Linked DNA regions of Homo sapiens: region 1 is linked to region 2. Evidence: promoter capture Hi-C in 16 types of primary human blood cells and fetal thymus (Javierre and others, 2016). All regions are on one chromosome and are shown on one strand. The core of a region is centred on a gene start or on the middle of the fragment in contact, and the rest is flanking DNA. Distances in the headings are between cores, read along the strand shown. Region 1 overlaps ME2 (malic enzyme 2). Region 2 holds the start of MRO (maestro).

The links. Contacts are between HindIII fragments. The CHiCAGO score rates a contact against its expected background, and 5 or more counts as called.
Region 1: a contact is called between a fragment that was not itself captured here and the fragment with the promoter of MRO in region 2, in 2 of 17 cell types (neutrophils and monocytes). The highest score is 6.7, in neutrophils.

Annotation. Positions count from the first base shown.
Region 1 is chr18:50,896,145-50,902,506 of GRCh38, forward strand. The region is part of intron 2 of ME2 (malic enzyme 2); the gene reads left to right. Among named protein-coding and RNA genes, the nearest start is that of ME2, 20 kb to the left of the region's middle. RefSeq lists silencers at 3,602-3,802, 4,645-4,694. The HindIII fragment of the contact is 3,215 bases long and covers 770-3,984 here.
Region 2 is chr18:50,817,920-50,824,179 of GRCh38, forward strand. It overlaps MRO (maestro), which reads right to left and starts at 2,097. Exons shown (of 8, transcript NM_031939.6): 1 at 1,978-2,097; 2 at 1,662-1,783. It also overlaps the pseudogene RPL17P46. RefSeq lists enhancers at 1,782-2,415, 2,252-2,301. The HindIII fragment of the contact is 17,012 bases long and covers 1-6,260 here.

The sequences.
Region 1 (6,362 bases), core at 1,127-3,626, 79 kb after region 2:
TTGACTTTGATTCCTAGTTCTAGCTTTAAAAAATAAAAAATAAAAAATCCCAGAATAGTGCTTTGGCCAGGACTTTGGGCCACATGTGAGATATTTACATTTCCCCAGCTCATATCAGGTACTCACCCTGAGCTAATCAGTTAGGCCCTTGGAAAGTAGGGTCAAAATTGTGAAATGAACCTTTATGTAAAGTCCACATCACCCCACCTCCACTTATCTTTTTGGACACAAACCATTGCACACAAAAAATTGTGCCCATTAATTAGAATGATTAGATGACTGCTTCAAAATAGAGAGACTCCTGGCTCTTTATTGTACTCTTGTGACAAAAGTGACGTGCAATATTGAGATCCAGTCATTACTTCATCCTTCATCTATGTTTGGTTCGGTGGACAAGTGCCTGCCTGTTTTTTAGTGGCAATATTAAATAGTAAGTAAAAGTTCTGGGAAGAGATTTTTTTTACAAGAAGATTGCAAGAGGATACATTGAGTTTATTGCAATATATGAAATTTACCTTTTGGGGAAAGGTAAATTCAAATGAAAAGTGTGACTTATTTTAAAAGAACAGTCATAAAAAACTTGCCAGTCCCGTTTGTTTCCCACTATCAGGGAAAATAGTTAATTGTTAATTGTTATCCTATGATAAGTTTTGAGGGGTTTCAGGCCTACAAAGGGGAATTTGACCATGGGTCACACAGAGCACCTCACCTTTGTATTCTTGGTACATGACACAGAATGAGTTCAGCAAGCAGTTAGTGTGTTAAATGAAGCTTAATGAAGGATATTCTGATCTTCTCTTGTTTGTGCCTGACCTCTCCAAATCTCATTTGCTCTTTAAGATGCACCTCATTTCAAATCCAGTTCTCCTGTAGAACCTTTTTACACCACCATGGACTGGAGTAATTACTCCCTTCTCTGAAACCCCATAGCAGTTTCTTCCTGTTCCTGTGGCAAGTAATCAATAGGTGTTGCTTTGTGCTTCTTTTCATGGTTTAAGCTGTTATTGAAGTCATTGATGGTAGTTACATTTTCCTGAGTTTATATCTTCTTGACTATATTTCGGGTTCCTTTTGGGCAGGGACCATTCAAATACTTCTGTGTATCTTTTACAGTGCTATGGGCGCATTTGATAAATATATTGGTTTTATATTTTATACTTATGGAAATAATTTATTTAAAACCTACTCTGGGGACTTAGAGATTATAAGAAATTTATAAAGTACATTGAGTGTCAAACAAGTTTGCAGATGGAGCATAGTCTAAGTGCATTACCATACTTCCCTAAAGAAAATAATGTCGGCCAGGCACAGTGGCTCACTCCTGTAATCCCAGCACCTTGGGAGGCTGAGGCAGGCGGATCACCTGAGGTCAGGAGTTCAAGACCAGCCTGACCAACATGGAGAAACTTCGTCTCTACTAAAAATACAAAATTAGGCCGGACATGGTGGCTTATGCCTGTAATCCCAGCACTTTGGGAGGCTGAGGTGGGCGGATCACCTGAGGTTGGGAGTTCGAGACCAGCCTGACCAACACGGAGAAACCCCATCTCTACTAAAAATACATAATTAGCTGAGTGTGGTGGAGCATGCCTATAAACCCAGCTACTTGGGAGGCTGAGGCAGGAGAATCGTTTGAACCCGGAAGTGGAGAGTGCGGTGAGCCGAGATCGTGCCATTGCATGCCATCCTGGGCAAGAAGAGCGAAACTCCATCTCAAAAAAAAAAAGAAAAAGAAAAAGAAAAAAAAGAATGTCTAACATTCTGGCCTTCTGAAATCCCTAAGATTGAATAGCATCTATATGGTCACATCATTGAAGGACCACTTCTGGAAACCCCTTAAACATCAGGAAGAGTTTATTTTTGTTTAAAGAACATAGACCAGTGATTCCCAATTCATGGGTTATAGACTCCTCAGGAACTTACCATGTAAAGAAATCTCATTTGTGCTTCAAATATTGTATACTTAATAACTTTTCACATTTTTGTAAATATTATCTTTAAGGATATGTTGCTGCTGTAATTAATAAAATAGTAATTAAAGGCAGTATTGAATTCTGAATCTTCTTAAATGTATGTCTGTAATCACTGTATACTCAAGGTATACCTGCTCTTTGTTTATAAAACTTTTTTATTGTGGTAAAGGAAGCATAATATAAAATTGACAATTTTAACTATTTAAAAGTATACAATTCAGTGACATTAAATTTATTTAGTGTTGTGCAACCATCACCACTATCTAGTTCCAGAACTTTTTTATTATCCCAAGTAGAAACCTAGTATTATTTCATTTTATTTTATTTTTTTGAGACAGGTTCTCACTCTGTTGCCCAGGCTGGAGTGCAATGACACTATCATGGCTTACTGCAGCCTTGACCTCCCCGGGCTCAGGTGATTTTCCCATCTCACCTTCCCGAGTAGCTGAGACTACAGGCACGTGCCACTACACCTGGCTACTTTTTGTATTTTTTTGTAGAGATGAGGTCTTGCCATGTTGTCTATGCTGGTTTTGAACTCCTGGGCTCAGGTGATCCGCCTGCCTTGGCCTCCTAAACTGTTGGGATTACAGGCATGAGCCACCACACCTGGCCAAAATTTCTTACACTTTAAAAGGTGGGACACCATTATGCTAGGTTATAAGCAGGAGTTTAGGTGCTAATTTGGGCTTTACCATTTACTAGCCATGAAACTTTGGCAAACCCTTCAACTTCTCTAGGCCTTAGTTTTCTTCATGTAAATAATATAGGTAATAGCATTTGGAAACATTTAAAGGGCTATACAAGTATAAAATTGGATTTCTCCTTTTCTCCCCATGCTCATTTGGCTAACTTTTCTCATAATTTTCTGAAATTCAGCTCTGCATCCTTTCCCACACAGCAGAAGGTGAGCAGTGGTTGAGCAAGTGAATCTTCATCTGTATTTACAGCCACTCCTCATGGCTTGCATTACCGCCTGTGCTCTGCCTCCTGTCAGAGGAGTGCAAACCCTATTGTGAACTGCGCATGCAAGGGATCTAGGTTGCACACTAATTATGAGAATCTAATGCCTGATGATCTGAGGTGGCACAGTTTCATCCTGAAACCATTCCCTACCCCCTGAAATAGAGTCAACAAGATAAAAACTCATGAAAATGTAACTATCATCAATGACTTCAATAACAACTAAGACATGAAAAGAAAAATTGTCTTCAGCTGGCTGTGGTGGCTCACACCTGTAGTCCCAGCACTTTGGGAGGCTGAGGTGGATTGCTTGGGGTCAAGAGTTTGAGACCAGCCTGGCCTGGTCTCTACCAGCCTGAACTCGTCTCTACCAAAAATATAAAAAAATTAGCCAAGCACTGTGGTGCATGCCTATAGTTTCAGCTACTCAGGAGGCTGAGGTGGGAGGATCACTTGAGCCCAGGAGGTGGAGGTTGCAGTGAGATCGTGCCACTGCACTGCAGCTTGGGTGGCAGAGTGAGCCCCTGTCTCAAAAAAAATTGTCTTCCATGAAACTGGTCACTGGTGCCAAAGAGGATGGGGACCACTGCTCTAGGAAGTTTTCAGTGACCCTTTTTCCTAATTCCTCACCACACTGGGTGAGTTACTCCCCTGTCCTTTGAGCATTCTTGTGCTCACTTCTGTCAATACCATGTATCATACTCAGTTGGAATTATCTCATTCCTCCATTGAGGACAATGACCATATCTTAGTCTGTATCCTCATTATCTTACCCCACAGTACTTAGCACACACAGAGCCTCAGTACATGCTGGGTAGATGGATGAATGCATAAACAGATGAGCAAATAGGAAAACAAAATCTGACATGATTGGTGCTCGGAGTTTCACAGATAATTAAACATAGGTTTTGTTTCCAGAAAATAAGTTTGGATTAGATAGGAGTTTTGTTACCTACTCTTGTAAAACAAGTTAGGAAATACCCCTATTCACACCTCTTTTCCCCATGTACTGATTTATGTGTTTTCTTATCATTTTTTGAGCAAGTGAAGCTTCATCTGTATTTACAGCCACTCCTCATGGCTTGCATTACAAAGCCCATTTCATCTTACAAAGTCTTAAAAATTGAGTGATGCAGTTTTTTTTTTTAAATAAGAATAGGGGGAGGAAGAAGGAAAAAAGTAAGAATAATTTTATTTATTTATTTATTTATTTATTTATTTATTTATTTATTGAGATGGAGTCTCGCTCTGTTGCCCAGGCTGGAGTGCAGTGGCGTGATCTCGGCTCACTGCAAGCTCTGCCTTCTGGGTTCATGCCATGCTCCTGCCTCAGCCTCCCTAGTAGCTGGGAGTACAGGCGCCTGCCACCATGCTCAGCTAATTTTTTGTATTTTTAGTAGAGATGGTGTTTCACTGTGGTCGCGATCTGCTGACCTCGTGATCTGCCCACCTCAGCCTCCCAAAGTGCTGGGATTACAGGCGTGAGCCACTACGCCCAGCCAAGAACAATTTTAAATTACATTAAAAAGTTTTCAGTTGAGTGATATGATTTGGCTCTGCATCACCACCCAAATCTCATCTTGAATTTTAATAATTACCACGTGTCAAAGGTAGGACCAGGTGGAGGTAACTGAATCGTGGGGGTGGTTTCCCCCATGCTGTTCTTGTGATAGTGAGTGAGTTCTCACAAGATCTGGTGGCTTTATAAGGGACTTCCCCCTTCGCTCAGCACTCATTCTCTCTCCTGCCACCCTGGGTAGAGGGGCCTTCTACCATAATTGTAAGTTTCCTGAGGTCTCCCCAGCCATGTGGAACTGTGAGTCAGTTAAACCTCTTTTCTTATAAATTACTCAGTCTTGGTATTTCGTCATAGCAGCATGAGAATGGGCTAATACAATGAGTATATTTTATTTCAAATTTATGTATTAACACCTAATTTCTGTACCAAAACAACATAAGCCATAGAACATGTGATGTGAATAATTGTGGATTTGTGATGAACAGAGCTTGCCACTTAGTTATAATTTGCCCTTTTAGTGCAATTTCATCTCAATTAACACATTTTCAGAAGTCTAAACAAGCATTTGAGTGCTAGTGAGGCACTGGCTACATAGCGCCTATCCGTATTGAGGTTAAGGGAATGCATTTTATCTCCTGCTTATAAATGTGTGTAAATGGATTCTATCTCCTGAATCGTTTGCCTTCTATCTTACATTTCTCATTACAAACGTAAATCAGTATTAAAGAGTCTGATTTGTATTAAAGAGTTGTTTTAGTCTTAGATTATTTCTGTTACTCTCAGGATATGTCTTATATTAGATTGTACAAGGCTTAAAGATACAGATAAAATGTGCTTTAAAGTATGAAATGAGTACCAGAAAATAAATATTTGGTTGAATCAGAGAGATGAGAAAATATATAACAAATGAATTGGCTATTCATTTTTAGTGTGGATTTAAAGCTTTTAGAGGTAGATATAAGTGATACTTTCTTTTACACTGTAATAATGCTTCCATAGGGTAGAGTGCTCAAACAAGAAATTTGGGAAGGATTCAGGCTGAGGTCTATTATGATTACAACAGTAAAAGTGTACAATTGTTTGATTACAAGGTGAGCCAACTCTAAACTATGTACATAGCCTCCGACCCTCAATTTTGTTTTTCACTTTTGTTCTTCCTGCCTCTGTGTTGGCTGCCTTAGCAAGAGAGATGCCAACATTTTTATTGATGACCCAGTGGGCTAAAGGTATAGGAGTCCTTCTGAAATTTTTTTAAAAAAACACCTGAACACTATTGATATAACCTAGTAATTCTCAAGTAACTCCTGCTATCTACGTTTTTTTCTTTTTCTAGTTCCTCCCGTAATACTACTAAACATCTCTTTTAAACCAAGTATTCTTTTCAAGATGTAAGATTGTGAAGAGATTTTACTACAGATTCTTAATTTATTTCAGCCAAATTCAAATATCCTAATGGACTCTATTTAGAATAATGAACCATAGATTGCCAGAACTAAAAGAGCTAAGTACATAGTAAATACCTATGCAAACCATTAACTTAATTCGAGAAGGAGTGTTAAAGAAGAGAATCAATAACTCCTTTATTTTGTAGATTCCATCCCTAAGATTTAAGGACATGCTCAAGCTTTGTATCTGGAACTCTGGTTTTCTGGTTATTAGTTCTCTGAGGGTTTTGTTAATTTATTTGTTTATATTTTAACTTCTCCCGGCTAGTTCTTTAATAAATTTAGAATTTTCTTCTGGTTATTTACACAAATAATATGACTAATAAAAGATTTAAAAATCACATTGCTATTATTCTATCACCTTTTTTGGTGAGACAGAGATTTACTCTTGTTGCCCAGGCTGGAGTGCAATAGTGCGATTTTGGCTCACCACATCCTCCGCTCCCAGGTTCAAGCGATTCT
Region 2 (6,260 bases), core at 847-3,346:
AGTTAAATCAAGGTCACAAGGCCCCTCGCTGGAGCCTTGTGTTTCTTGTACTTGCAGCTTCTTAAAGAACTCCCACCCCCCGCCCCATGCCCTCCTTCCTGCCTGCAGTGCCTCCCTCCTTTCTAAAACATGAAGTCCTTTACACCCAATCCAACAAAAACAAAAGGATCATTCTCATCTGTTGCAACACAGGATCTCAGAGAGGATCGTTTTAAACACACTGTGAATGAACGTAGTATACAGATTCCAAGATTTCTTAGGATGTTCTAACTCCTTCTCCAAGCCCTCTCACCCGTAAGACAGGCATTCTTTCCTAGGAGAATTACATTTTCTGGTGGGTTTCTATGGTCACCACATATGCCTAGCCTTGTATGACCAAGACCAGGAGGTCACCTGGCCATTTGGAAGCCAAAGACACAGCTCTGCTTATAGTTTTACTCATCTCTGCACACGTTCTTCAACGAATTCTTCTTCCTCTGGAACATACCCCTGAGTGAGCTATGTGCAGACCCCTTGGTTTTCACGAACCCCAAGACCCCGGCTGGGGCTTGTGTTCATTGCCAGGTTGTGCTCTACCTGATCTTACTGAAGATACATGGATTTGGGGTAACTTAGAAGACTGTTTTATGCTTTACACTGACTCCCATCTGCTTTTGCAAACTTGAATGATTCTGACTCAAAATATTAGATTTTTGGTCAATAATCCTTTTATTTATTGAAGCCAAAAGGTATATTATGAAGGCCAAAATTATAAAACACTTTGATTTTATCTCATCTGTAAAATGAGCAGAAGAAACTGTTAGATTGCTTAAAAATCCTTCCAACACTGAACTTATAAATGACAATAGTAGGCTGCGTGTGGTGGCTCATGCCTATAAATCCCAGCATTTTGGGAGGCTGAGGCAGGCAGATTGCTTGAGGTCAGGAGATCAAGACCAGCCTGAGCAACATGGTGAAACCCCGCCTCTACTAAAAATACAAAAATTAGCCAGACATGGTGGTGCACACCTGTAGTCCCAGCTACTCAGGAGGCTGAGGCAGAAGAATCACTTGAACCCAGGAGACAGAGGTTGCAGTGAGCCGAGATCGGGCCACCGCACCCCAGCTTGGGCAACACAACAAGACCCTGTCTCAAAAAAATGAAAAAAAAAATTAATATTAAAAAAATCGTCTTCATTTTAGAAAAGAAGAAACTGGGCTTAAAGTAATGTTGAACAATTAACTCAAAGTCAAATACTGGCAGAGCAGATTTTAGGACTCTGAAAGATATCCTTTCAGTCACTGTGCTATAAGCCTAGGTTCAGCTCCCAGGCAATGTCCTGTGAGCTGAACGAGGGAAGACAGACCGCATAGACATTTCAGTTTAAAGTGTCAATATCTTCCCTGAGTCCCTGCCATTCTATTATATTGCTGACAATAGAATGATCTATAACCCAACTATTGATCGATTAACATAGTTTGTGAAAAGCAAACAAAATCAGCTTCCTGGTCAACATTGCCCACTTCAGTTTTACAAAGAGAACATTACCAAATCCTACCCCCTAGAGGTCGAGCTCCCATACTGGTGACCAGAGTGACATTCCAGAAAGGTTTTGGGAACCCAAGTGCAGCCAGGACGCCTCCCGCTGCATCTGGCTGCCCCGGCCAACAGTGTCCCTTACCTGCGGCTCCTGCAGGCGGCTGCCACGTGATGAACCGGAGCCCGTTCCTGACTCGGGAGGGCTGCTTTCCCGGGTAGTAGCCAAATGTGATGACTCGGCTAAATTTTCCCAGCCCTGAATTCCTAACATACAAGAAGGGAAATTAGGAGGTGACGCAGGGTCTGTCCAGGATAACGGGTCGGCACAGAGTGTTGGAAAGTGAGAATCAAATAAGAGGGGAAAGTCAAAGTTTATAGAGTATTTGGGCAGGGGAGGGAATTGTTCTGGAATGAAACCGACAAGAATATTGTAGGGTGGCACAAGCATGACTTGCTACCTTTGCTTCCCCACGCCATGCTGAGGTGTTTTTCCTTCTCCTTGCTGTGATTTCCCCTCCTTCTTCCCTCATGCCAGCCTGGTCGACACTTTCTGCAGAAATTCTGCAGATGGCAATTCTGGGGACCTTTCCTCTGCACCAAACAAAACCTCCCTGCCAAGGCCCGTTCCCCATGCGGCCGCGAGATGGCGGCATGACTCAATGGACGGGTTCCAGGCGACCCCTGCACAAAGCCGCCGCCGTGGCTGCCTCCTTCCTTACATAATCCTGTTAGAGCGCATTTAATCTAAGGATGGGACACTGTGTTCCATGCCAAGCAGCCTCATCGTGGCTGATTGTTGCACCAACAACAAGAGCTTTAACCGTTGACGTCCCTTCCTGCTCAAGAAACACCGTATGTCCCGAAAGGAGCGATTTAAGCTCTCAAAATGATTTATTGGTAAAAAGCAAAGCAAAATTAAAACCGGGGAATTACAGCACCTGCAGAATTTAGGAGCCTCTCTCTCTCATCAGCCCTCCTTCCCTGACTCTCCAAACACGTGCATAAATCTATTTAACAATAATTAGTTATCGTCTCGCTCTGCATTGGGTCATAAAGGGAGAAAATATGTCCTGAAAGGAAAAAAGAACAGTTATATTTTCAAAGACAGAGGCACTTATTGTTATGCTAATAGATAACATTCAATTAAAACTTCTGTGTGCCAAATGTTGTGATAAATATTACATAGACTATCTCATTCAATTGTTACATCAAACCAAAGGTTAATACTCCTACTATAGTCTCCATTTTAAGGCTGGAGAAACTGAGGCACAGGGAGATTACCTTGACAAAGGTCATGCAGTTAATTTGTGGCAGTTAAAATTCAGCTACAGGCAGGCTAATGTAAGAGCTTGGACTCAGCCATGATGCTATGCACTGGACTGGTCTAGAAAACCCAGGAGATAAACAGAAAAATATAAACCAGAGAACTATGTCAGAGTGGAAGATGAAAGAAAAAGGCAGAAAGAAAATCGATGCTGCTGAGAAAATAAGAAGAATGAGGCTAAAACACCACCCTCTTCAGATTAAGTTACAAGGGAACCACTGTGACATTTGAGGACACAATTTCAATAGAGTGACAGAGAAAGGAAGCTAGACTGCAAAACTAAGGGGCTATGAGGAAAGAGGAAATTGAGATGTCTTGCTGCAAAAGGAAAGCAATAAATAGACTAGAAGAGACAGCAAGGTCAGGCAAAAGCATTTTGGTTTTCTTGTGTGCTTTTTGAAATGGAATAAAGCCTGGCCTTGTTTGAAAGTGGTTGCAAGGGAGCCCTAATATGTGGCTGGTGCCAAGTAGTGGTAATAGGAAGAGGTGGAGGGGGCATCAAGGGCACGAGGGAAAGGGTTAGCTCTGGAGGAGGAAGAAAGATGGCTGCCTCTGCCTGCAACTGGGAGGCAGCCACAGAGATGAAGATACATCAACACAAAACTGAGAGGAATGGGCGAGTTCAATTCTTCCAAATTAGCTTTAATCTTTTCAGTAAAACCAGAGTTAGGTTATCTGCCAAGAGCGAGAATGAGGTTTATACGGCCATAATCTATATACTGAACTAATCCATGTAGTGCTTAGAATGACCAAAAAGGTAATAAGATTATCCGAAGAACAGAGGAGACTGGAGAAAGGAAGCCCAAAGTATGATTGTAAAGATTCTCTGCAAAATCTCCTTTGTGAATCAGAACTGAAATTTACATCCCCTCCTCCCCATGAACAGAAACACAACAAACTATTAATAACCCCTTGTGTCTAAAGTTTCTTTGTATTCATGTTTTAAGATATTTGACAGAGAAATAGTATCTTCTCTACTGTTAAATAGGAGAACTAATATGCAGATAAATTTTCCTGTTTGACTTAAAACTACAAAGAACATCAGGGCCAGAACTGGAATTGATATCCAGGAGCCTTTCTGATACTTGCACTGTGCTGACCTCAGCTCTACTAAACACTTCTCATAAACGGCCTGGATGCAGCTAACTGCCCCTAGAGAATCCCAGACACAGCACAAACTTGGGAAGCATCAAAATCAACGCATGATGCCCACAAGAGTCTAAGATTCTCCTTATGTGGCCCTGGGTCACAGTACAGTTCTTTGGAAATTAGAGGGCAAGTTTGATAATTTGATTGCAACATATTTGCATATCTATAACATGATGTCCTTAAAAGAACACACCATAATTATTTAATGTAAGGATTTAATGACTCTATTTTCATTCTCAATTAACATTTCCTTATTGCCAGAAGTACACTGGGGCTGGCACAACTGGAAAAAGCAAAGAGGGTAATTATTTAGCCTGCATTACTGATGAAAAGGGCAACAGGCAAAGCTAAAGCAATCCACAATTCACCTTGTATGTGAATTACATGTGTATTACAATGTGTAATCAGGAAATTTATCTTTTTTAGTTTATTTTATTTTATTTTTGAGACAGGGTCTCACTCTGTCAGCCAGGCTGGAGTGCAGTGGGGGGAACTTGGCTCACTGCAACCTCCGCCTCCCAGGTTCAAGCGAATCTTACGCCTCAGCCTACCGAGTAGCGGGACTACAGGCGCCTGCCACCACACCCGGCTAATTTTTGTATTTTTGATAAAGACGGGGTTTCACCATGTTGGCCAGGCTGGTCTCCAACTCCTGACCTCAGGTGATCTGCCTGCCTCTGGGATTACAGGCATGAGCCACTGGGCCCTGCCAGGAAATTTATCTTAAAGAGAGAGATTTAAGTTTCCTCCCTCTCATCTTCTTTCAGGAAATACATCCCCCGCCCCCCGCCCCCCGCCCCCCAGCTAAGCTAAACTCTGTCTTGATTTTCACTTCTAAAAAGAAGTAAAATCAGCCACCTCCTTAGCCACAGGTTGGGTTTAGCAGCTTCTCATTCTTTCCTTCTTTCTTCCAGTGTTTACTGAGATCCTGCTTCCATGGAGGCAGAGTGCTCGGCAGGTGGGACCAACACTCGGACTGCGCTCTCAAGGAGAATCAACCAGTAGAGGACTTGGGACTGGGGCTTACGTGCCCACAGCGCAAGGCAGGAATTGATAAGAGCCAAGGAGAGGAGGTGATAATGAGTCAAAGGGCAGTCACTCGGGAAAACCCTTTGTAGAGGATGGAGCATCTACTCCTGCGCTTAGTGAAACCTGTTAGACAGAGAGGCATATGAGAAATGCCTCCCAGGAGGCAGGCCCAGCGAGAACACGAGGCCATGAAAGCCCGCCAGCTAGCCACCCCATGAGCCACCTAACCTGACTCCTCCACAGTCCACTCGCCTCCAAGGCAGACAGCCTTGGGAGGCTCTTCCCAAACTTCATGCCACATTTGCTTCCTCCCACTTCTCTACCTATGTGTTTTAATCTAAAAACAAAGGTCTTTTGGCTGCTAATCTTTGAATGCAATAGATGCTGCAGGAAGAAGCACTGGGGTTTATCCCTCCAGCACATGGAGGCAGGAGCGCCCCGTGGCCTAGGTCTCCTCACGCCCAGATGCAGTTCTCCAAACTCTATAAACAGTAAGCTGTCTCATCCAACCCTCCATCTGGCTGTTATGCCTTCCATTTTCTCTATTTTGTTACTTGATAGTTATTGTTGGTACCAGAATGCAAGAAAAAATTCAAGCTCTTTCTGTAGCCTCTTGGCCAGGGGTAATCTCTGAAAATGGTTTGCCTATCCCTTGACCCAGAAAACTCCACAAAATCATGCAAACCAAGGGACTCAAATCTTTATGTTCGCTTTAAGAACACCCATGTAACTGTGCAGGCCATCAAGGTATGCATACCCAAAAAACCACCAAGTACCTGAAAGATGTCACTTTTCAGAGGCACTGTGTGCCTTTCCGTCATTACAAAGGTGGAGCTGACATGTGTGCCCAGGCCAAACAATGGGGCTGGACACAGGATTGGTGGCCCAAAAATGTGTTGAATTTTTGCTGCATGTGCTTAAAAATGCAGAGAACAATGCTGAACTTCAGGGTTTAGAGGTAGATTCTTGGATCATTGAGCACATTCAGTTGAGCAAAGCCAAGATATACACCATATTTACAGAGCTCATGGTCAGATTAACCCATATGAGAGATCCCCCTGCTACATGGAGATGATCCTCGCTGAAAAGGAACAAATTGTTTCTAAACCAGAAGAGATATTTACACACAAGAAAAAGGTATCCCACAAGAAACTGAAGAAACAACATGGCCTAGGAATACATTCAGTATAAGATAAATGCAAATAATAGTTTAGCCAGGCATGGTGGCTCACACCTGTA